Regions from separate parts of the Homo sapiens genome. Here region 1 is linked to region 2. Evidence: promoter capture Hi-C in 16 types of primary human blood cells and fetal thymus (Javierre and others, 2016). All regions are on one chromosome and are shown on one strand. The core of a region is centred on a gene start or on the middle of the fragment in contact, and the rest is flanking DNA. Distances in the headings are between cores, read along the strand shown.

The links. The method cuts DNA at HindIII sites, captures the fragments that hold promoters and counts their contacts. A CHiCAGO score of 5 or more calls a contact.
Region 1: a contact is called between a fragment that was not itself captured here and the fragment with the promoter of MISFA in region 2, in 1 of 17 cell types (total B cells). The highest score is 5.2, in total B cells.

The regions. Positions count from the first base shown.
Region 1 is chr11:18,079,358-18,083,537 of GRCh38, forward strand. It overlaps SAAL1 (serum amyloid A like 1), which reads right to left. Exons shown (of 12, transcript NM_138421.3): 10 at 4,178-4,180; 11 at 2,054-2,146; 12 at 935-1,134. The coding sequence ends at 1,042. Among named protein-coding and RNA genes, the nearest start is that of SAAL1, 25 kb to the right of the region's middle. The HindIII fragment of the contact is 1,393 bases long and covers 799-2,191 here.
Region 2 is chr11:18,596,923-18,601,060 of GRCh38, forward strand. It overlaps MISFA (mitochondrial sheath formation associated), which reads left to right and starts at 2,867. Exons shown (of 4, transcript NM_001355570.4): 1 at 2,867-3,075. The coding sequence starts at 3,007. LOC112268073 (a long non-coding RNA gene) reads right to left here and starts at 2,625. Exons shown (of 4, transcript XR_002957242.2): 1 at 2,509-2,625. The HindIII fragment of the contact is 4,225 bases long and covers 2,238-4,138 here.

The DNA of each region.
Region 1 (4,180 bases), core at 245-2,744, 520 kb before region 2:
TTTAAAGCCAAAAAACTGATATAAATTGGGAAGGGGCTATACCAAAAGTGAGGTTCAGAAAGCTGGCTTTGTTATTCCTAACAGATATTTTCTTAAAAATCTATTAAAAAGCACCCCCCCAACCCAGCCAAACACACATAAAGACTTGGTAGGAAAAAGCCCCTTCTCTTTCTCCCTTTTTCTTCCTGAATGTGGATAAAGGCCCAGAGATGGCACAGCCCCCTTAACCACAAGGCAATAAACATGAACGCAAAGGCCTACCTGGCAGACCACGTGAAGGGTGAAAGGAGCCACCTCATTACATCTGGATTTTTGCATAAGGTTCCTGAAAGAGATCAGATTCAGCTGCTACAGGAGGGTTTCTGTTACTGCAGCTGAATATACTTAACAGTGGATACAAAGACGTAATTCTCACTTAAAAAAATCAAATTAGGCTGGGCACGGTGGCTCACGCCTGTAATCCCAGCACTTTGGGAGGCCAAGGCGGGCAGATCACGAGGTCAGATCGAGACCATCCTGGCTAACACAGTGAAACCCTGTCTCTACTAAAAATACAAAAAATTAGCCAGGCGTGGTGGCGGGCACCTGTGGTCCCAGTTACTCGGGAGGCTGAGGCAGGAGAATGGCATAAACCCAGGAGGCGGAGCTTGCAGTGAGCTGAGATCGCACCACTGCACTTCAGCCTGGGCGACAGAGTGAGACTCTGTCTCAAAACAAACAAACAAACAAACAAAATTAACAGCTATGAAGAAAATCAACACTGATCTCGCACATATCCTAAAAAGAACCTCAATGATAAGCTTACATTTTTGCTTTCCTCAACTGAGGATGATAAATATCACATAAAAAGAGGGGTGACAGTGGTGAAACCTCAGATTCCAAAGTCAAAAAAAGTGAGACAAGTCTAGGACAGAAAAATGTTAACACCAGACAATTATGGTCTAATATGGGCTTTAGTTAATATTTCCAATAAGTCAATTTCAACTGTCAGTGAGAAAAATAAAGTTTATTTCTTGTACAGAAGTAATTCCAATTCAGGTTTTAAGTCTGAACCTTCAAACTTGGGAAGTTTTTTTCCAAGTCATCAGCAAGCGCCTTATCAACTTCACGTAGGATTTTAATAAAATCTTCCACCTGTGAGTCAAACAAACAAACAAAAATCAAACACAGAAGAGAAAAACGTGCTTTAAGGTACTGATTGCTCTACCTGTGGTTTCTAAATGGTCCAATGGAAAAGAAATGCTGGCAGATCTCCAGATGATAGTAACAGTACTTCCTAAGCAGTCTTCTAAATCATTCTCAAGGAAATGACTATGCTTTCCCATTCCGTTTTACTCTTGAGCTAGTACTTCTCCCCCCGCCTCTTCTTTACAGTCTGTTCCCACATTCTGTCCTTCATTTTCCTGAAAAAGTTCCTATTTTGAAATCTGATTCTAATGGTAGGAAATGTGATGTCATTTGAAGAACCATAAAAACCTACTGACTATTCCCAAGAATCTGATTTTGGCTTAATATAGATGTTATCTACTTCATAACAGAAAGGAGTACTATAAATTCAGAGCTTATTTTTTTCCTCTTAGAATTGTTACTCCCAATACTATTATGAATTTTCCAGTAGTCATCTTTTTTTCCCTCAACTTTTATTGTAGACTCAGGGGAGTCTAAATGTGCAGGTTTGTTATAAAGGTATATTACATGATGCCGAGGTTTGAGGCACAGATGAACCTGTTACCCAGGCAGTGAGCTTAGTACCCAATAGGTAGTTTTTCAGCCCTTGCCCTCCCTCTCTCCCTCCCCTCCTCCTGTGGTCCCCAGTGTCTACTGCTCCCATTTGTATGTCCATAGTATCCAATGGTTTAGCTCCTACTTCCAAGTGAGAACATACGGTATTTGGTTTTCTGTTTCCAGCAGTCATCTATCTGACAAAGGCATTAAGTCATATAAATTGTATATACTATCATTTTTGACAATGACCTCGAAATCAAGTGCTTACTTGAAAACATTTAGTAATCCTACAAAACTTGGCCACCTATATACATTTACCCATACTCACCACAGGGCTATAGAAAGGAAGAAGGTTTTGAAATGCAGAGGAACACTTCTGTTTGCTCAACTGGCCTTCCTTTACTCCCTGAGCCACCGTCTCCTAAAACAACAACAAGATTTAATGTCAAAAAAGGAAAATTTTTCAAGCTTTAACTAGTGAATAAAAACAAATCAGGATATTCAATTCCCTCCTGACTTCATAGGCATTTCAAATGTCCCACCTGAACCCACCAACATCAAGGAGGCTTATGTAACCCAAACATGTTCTCCACTGTCGTCTTTACTTTAGTGAAGGGCACCACCATCCACCCTGCTACACAGACTACAAACTTGGAACACAGCCAAGACTTTTCCTTCTCCCCTCCTGCTGACTCCTCCCGGCAAGTGCTCAATTCTATTCTACCAAATCTCTCTTACCCCCATCCCTCCTCTCCATTCAAACTTCCATTGTTTAGGCTGCCATCATTTTTCAGATTATTCTTGAAGATTACCAACCACAAGAGCCTGTTAGTTGATCTCCTGCCCTCCAGCCTCAACTCTCTCTACTCCTTCCTCTCTATTGCTTTTGGAGTAATCTTTCTAAACTGATCGTATCACTTGGTGCTTAAAAGTAAAAAATCTTTAGTAGTTCCTCAGCTTTTTCAAGATGAAGTCTAAATCCCCTAAATATGACATAAGAATTTGCATGACATAGCACTCGTGTATTCTCAGCCCACCTTTCTTTGATGTTCCCACCACTTAAAAGTTAAGAAATATCGATGTCCCTTGCTCCAAAAAACAGAAACAACAGCAAAGAATGGGAAAAAAATACATGCGATAAATATGGAAAAGATACATTATTACCCAAGAAATTCATACAAATAATCAAAATGGATAAATTATTAAAAGGTAGGAAACAAATTAACATACGACATCCAAATATTTCAATCTCATTAATTTAAAAATGCAAATCAAAGTAAGACACAATTTATTACCTGAACTTTGACATAAAAATTATAATACCCAATAATAAGCGTCAAGTAAAACCAACATTTTCACATATAAATAGCATTTTGACAAAATATGGCCATCATGACTTAGCCATCTTCACATTTATAATGTTGAATCCAGTAATTTAAATTATATAAAACCTGCTAAGGTAATAACCCCAAATCTGGAAAATACAAATATGGAAAAGGGAAGCAAGACAACTAATAAAAAAAAAATCACCAGAATAAGAGAAACTTTTTGTTTCATTTTGTTTTTTGAGATAGGGTCTCACTCTGTCGCTCAGGTTGGAGTGTAGTGGCACAGTCTGGGCTCACTGCAGCCTCGACCTCCTGGGCTCAAGCAATCCTTCCATCTTTGCCTCCCAAGTAGCTAGGATCACAGGCGTGTGCCACCATGCCCAGCTAATTTTTGTATTTTTTGTAGAGATGAGGTTTTGCCATGTTGCCCAAACTGGTCTCAAACTCCTGGGCTCAAGTGATCCACCTGCCTCAGCCTCCCAAGTGCTGGGATTATAGGCGCCTGGCCAAGAGAAACTTCTTAAGGAATACTCTTTAAAAAATTAAGTGGGTATGAATAAATATATTCTTCACAGCTATATTTATAACATTTTATATTCATAATACAATATATTCATAACATATTCATAATACATTTCTTTCCAAATATATGGATAGAAAAAACATGGTCAAAAGAAGAATATTAATAACCATTGAACATATTCAGGGAGAATGTTCCTTAAAAGAAGTTTGCAGTAAATTTTGAAAACTGATTATTTGGTAAATTAGGTTTAAACTGGCTCTCAGTAAAAAAGTCTTTCATCTAGAATCAAGAAAAATGTTTATAATACAGTGTTAAGGGAAAACAGTAGTCTATAAAAATTGCATATGCTGGGTTAAAGTATATGAAAAATGCATTTATAAAAACACATGCATGCAAACATAGGCATATGTCTGTCACACGTAAATATACCAAACCACATCAGCTAGTTGTTTTTAAGATTATAAACTCATGGTGATATTAAGATTTTACTTTATTTTCCCAAATTATATATTACTTTCATATTTAAAAAAAAATAAAGTTTGAAGCGTTAAGCAACCCACACTTTCTTTTGCTTATGACATCATCAATACTTCTTTCCTACCTT
Region 2 (4,138 bases), core at 1,617-4,116:
GTGTCACTGAGACAATTGACCAGTGAGTTCCACAAGCACCCATTGCCAGCTTTAGCCTGCAGCAGCTCATTAGACCTCTACCGTCCAGTTGGTCATGTCCACAACTCCTCCAACATGTTTTGGATCTCAGCCCTGGAGGGGAGGGGACTATTCCAAATTTATTTCTTCCTTGGGTACTTTGCCTCAGCCCTAGAGGTAGTGGCTGCTCCCTATATATGCTATTCCTGTAATATGTAACACTTTCTACCCCTTCTATAGTCGGTCACTTGCTCCTAGTTGATAATTCTCTTTATTAAAATTTTCAAATTACTGTCTGGTTTTCTGTCTCCTGACTGGACTTGACCTACTGTATCATTGGGAGCAAGATGAAATAAACTAGAATATTGTGCAAGAATTAAAAAAGAATAACCTAAGCTAGGCACAGTGGCTTATGCCTGTAATCTCAGCCCTTTGGGAGGACGAGGCAAGAGGCTTACTTGAGCCCAGGAGTTTGAGACCTGCCTGGTCAACATAGCAAGACCCTGCCTTTACAAAAAAAAAAAAAAATTAGCCAGGCATGGTGGTGCGCACTTGTAGTCCCAGCTACTTGGGAGGCTGAGGTGGGAGGATTGCTTGAGCCCAGGAGTTCAAGGCTGCAGTGATCTGTGACTGTGCCACTGCACTCCAGCCTTGACAACAAAGCAAGACTGTCTCCAAAAAGAAGAACATACACTTCTGCTTCTGCCTGTGAAGGATCAACTGTTACAGAAATTACCTTCTCTTCATAAATAGAAAATTGCACAAAACATGAAATAATTGTTTTCAGATCTTGTACAAGAGACAGCACAAAACTGTGTACTTTGAGAGAAAGGAAACCAGTGACGGTGAGTCCTACAATTGCTCCAGCCAGGAGGCAGTTTTCAGACTGTGGCACAGAAAGGAGTTACCCAACTGAGCATTTCACTGAGTTGAAGAGAAAGATAGCAAAATACAGCAGAGGCCAGAATTTGCAGGATGGAGTGCTAAGAAGAGGGATCTCCATGGAGAAAGCTCTGTAGATTTCCACAGGGGCCCTTATAAGTCTTTGGCTGAGTTCTGTCTGCACATATATGGGATAAAACTCGATGAGGCCTGGAAAAGATCCACCCAAAAGCAGTCGGCCAAACACTTCTTGGAGTTCCTGAAGGGCAGGGAATTGTGGAACATTCCACAGATTTGGAAGATCTATGCCGGGCACAGTGGCTCACACCTGTAATCCCAGCACTTTGGGAGACTGAGGCGGGCGGATCACCTGAGGTCAGGAGTTCGAGACCAGACTAACCAACGTGGAGAAACCCTGTCTCTACTAAAAATACAAAATTAGCCGGGCGTGGTGGTGCATGCCTGTAATCCCAGCTACTCAGGAGGCTGAGGCAGGAGAATCACTTGAACCCAGGAGGCGGAGGTTGCAGTGAGCCAAGATCACGCCCTTGCACTCCAGCTTGGGCAACAAGAGCAAAGCTCTGTCTCCAAAAAAAAAAAAAAAAAAAAAAAAAAGCTCTAATACAATCAGCCTCAGAGAAGGTGCTCAGAGAAAATGGTCATTAACTCAGCAGTGCGGATATTAACCCTAGAGTAAAGGCTGCTCCTGGCCTATCATAAAGCTTCAAACAAGCCTCAGAAGAATCAAACTGATCGCAAGTAACTTAAGTGCACCTTAGAATAAAATTTAACACTGTTGAATACAACAAAATCCAGCACTCGGCAATAAAATTTACCATGTTCAACATCTAATCAAAAGTTGTAAGACATTTAAAGAAGCAGGAAATATCACAACAGGCCAGGCGCGGTGGCTCATGCCTGTAATCCCAGGACTTTGAGAGGCTGAGGCGGGTGGATCACCTGAGGTCAGGAGTTCGAGACCAGCCTGGCCAACATGGTGAAACACCATCTCTACTAAAAATACAAAAATTAGCCAGGCGTGGTGGCGGGTGCCTCTAATCCCAGCTACTTGGGAGGCTGAGGCAGGAGAATCACTTGAGCCCAGGAGGCGGAGGTTGCAGTGAGCTGAGATTGCACCACTGCACTCCAGCCTGGGCGACAGAGCAAGACTCTGTCTCAAAAAAAAAAAAATTGTAGAGATGAAAAATACATTAAATGTCCATGATGTTGTAGCAGAAAAGCAAAAAATATCTTTGGTGACCTCTGAGAGGGTGTCTAATAGTGGGGTGGGGCTAGAAGTCAGAATGTAATGCATGGAAGAGGCGTAGATTGGAAAAAGCTTTGAGTATGGACCACTTGTTTAGGAAGTTTGGTCATAAAAGGAAATTAAGAAATAAGACAGGGAAGGAGCCACAGTATCATCTGGAAGTTTTTTTGAGGAAAGGACAGGGGTACCTGTGGCTTCATGATGGCCAAGAAAAGAGAATCAATGGAGAGGAACTAATCCAAGGTGATGAAGATGTGGATATACCATCATGCTGAGGATCCCCTTGACATGGGGAGAGGAGGTTTTGCAGGGACAGAAATAGAGACATCTGTCTCATTTACCTGTAATTCAGTTTGTTTCGTTCACATGTCGTACACCTAGCAGCAAAACACCTTTCCAAATCTCTGCCTCTAGTGTAAAGAGCCCAGCTGCCCAAGAGGCAGCTGAGTCCTAAGTCTTGGCCCTGATCTGGAGCATCAGCTATGTGCTGTAGTGCGGGTCACTTAGGCTGTAGTCTAAGCCTTAGTTTTCTGATTAGTGAAATGGGGTTAACAATAATGCCTACTTCATAGTGTTGCTGTTTGCTGCTCAGCTGCTGGTCTGGGGGCAGTGTCTCTGGTGTGTTTTGAGTCTGGGCCATATGGTCAATGATGTCACAATGCCCTACTAGATTTCAGCTTCTCCACTAGGGAGTTGTGGATCCTTTGGAGCCAAAGACTCGAACAGACATGCGAGACCTCTACCAACTGAAGGTTTCGTGAGCGCACTCCTTTGCCAAGATCTTGGTGAATAGTCTTTCACTGTGCAATTTTATCTTAGAAATTGTTTTACGTTTGATCATGATTGTGCTTGGCTGGATGTTTTTTGTTGGACTTGTGTGTTACATGGGCACGTTTCCAGAGTTGATGGTAAGTAATGGCTCTGCCTGTAAATCCCTGGTGGTCAGTCCTGTGCTGGCTCATCTTCCTGTCTGGGTTTTCTGACCAAATGGGAAAGATAGTTGAGGTCTCACCACTAACTGGAAGTCAGAATGTGATGGGAACAAAGTTAGTGTCCCAGGCTACCGGGCTACTTCCCATCCCACTAGGGACATCCTTTTTTATTTTTTATTTATTATTATTATTATTTTTTGAGATGGAGTTTTGCTCTTGTTGCCCAGGCTGGAGTGCAGTGGCGCGATCTCGGCTCACTGCAACCTCCGCCTCTCAGGCTCAAGCGATTCTCCTGCCTCAGCCTCCTGAGCAGCTGGGATTACAGGCATGCACCACCACGCCTGGCGAATTTTGTGTTTTTAGTAGAAACAGGGTTTCTCCATGTTGGTCAGGCTGGTCTCAAAGTCCTGACCTCAGGTGATCCACCCACCTCGGCCTCCCAAAGTGCTGGGATTACAGGCATGAGCCACCACGCCTGGCTGGGGACATCCTTTTTTTTTTTTTTTTTTTTTTTTTGGAGACGGAGTCTTGCTCTGTCGCCCAGGCTGGAATGCAGTGGTGCGATCTCGGCTCACTGCAAGCTCTGCCTCCTGGGTTCATGCCATTCTCCTGCCTCAGCCTCCCGAGTAGCTGGGACTACAGGCTCCCACCACCATGCTTGGCTAATTTTTGGTATTTTTAGTAGAGACGGGGTTTCACTGTGTTAGCCAGGATGGTCTAGATCTCCTAACTTCGTGATCCGCCTGCCTCGGCTCCCCAAAGTGCTGGGATTACAGGCGTGAGCCACTGCGCCCGGCCAGGACATCCTTTTAAGTCTTTTTTTGTTTCCCCCTCCCTTGCATATATAGCTGTACTTGTTTCAAAGCACTATGGAATTTGCAAGGGGTCTGCTGGAGACCGTATTTGACTTGCGGATTGCAGGCCAAGTGGATCAGTGGTTATTGGTAGGAAGGGGGACGGTAGGGATTGGTGGGACCTTTTAGCAGCCCTTCTGGTCACCACACAGAGTGGTTACCCACTGGGCCAATGAGTAGAGCCA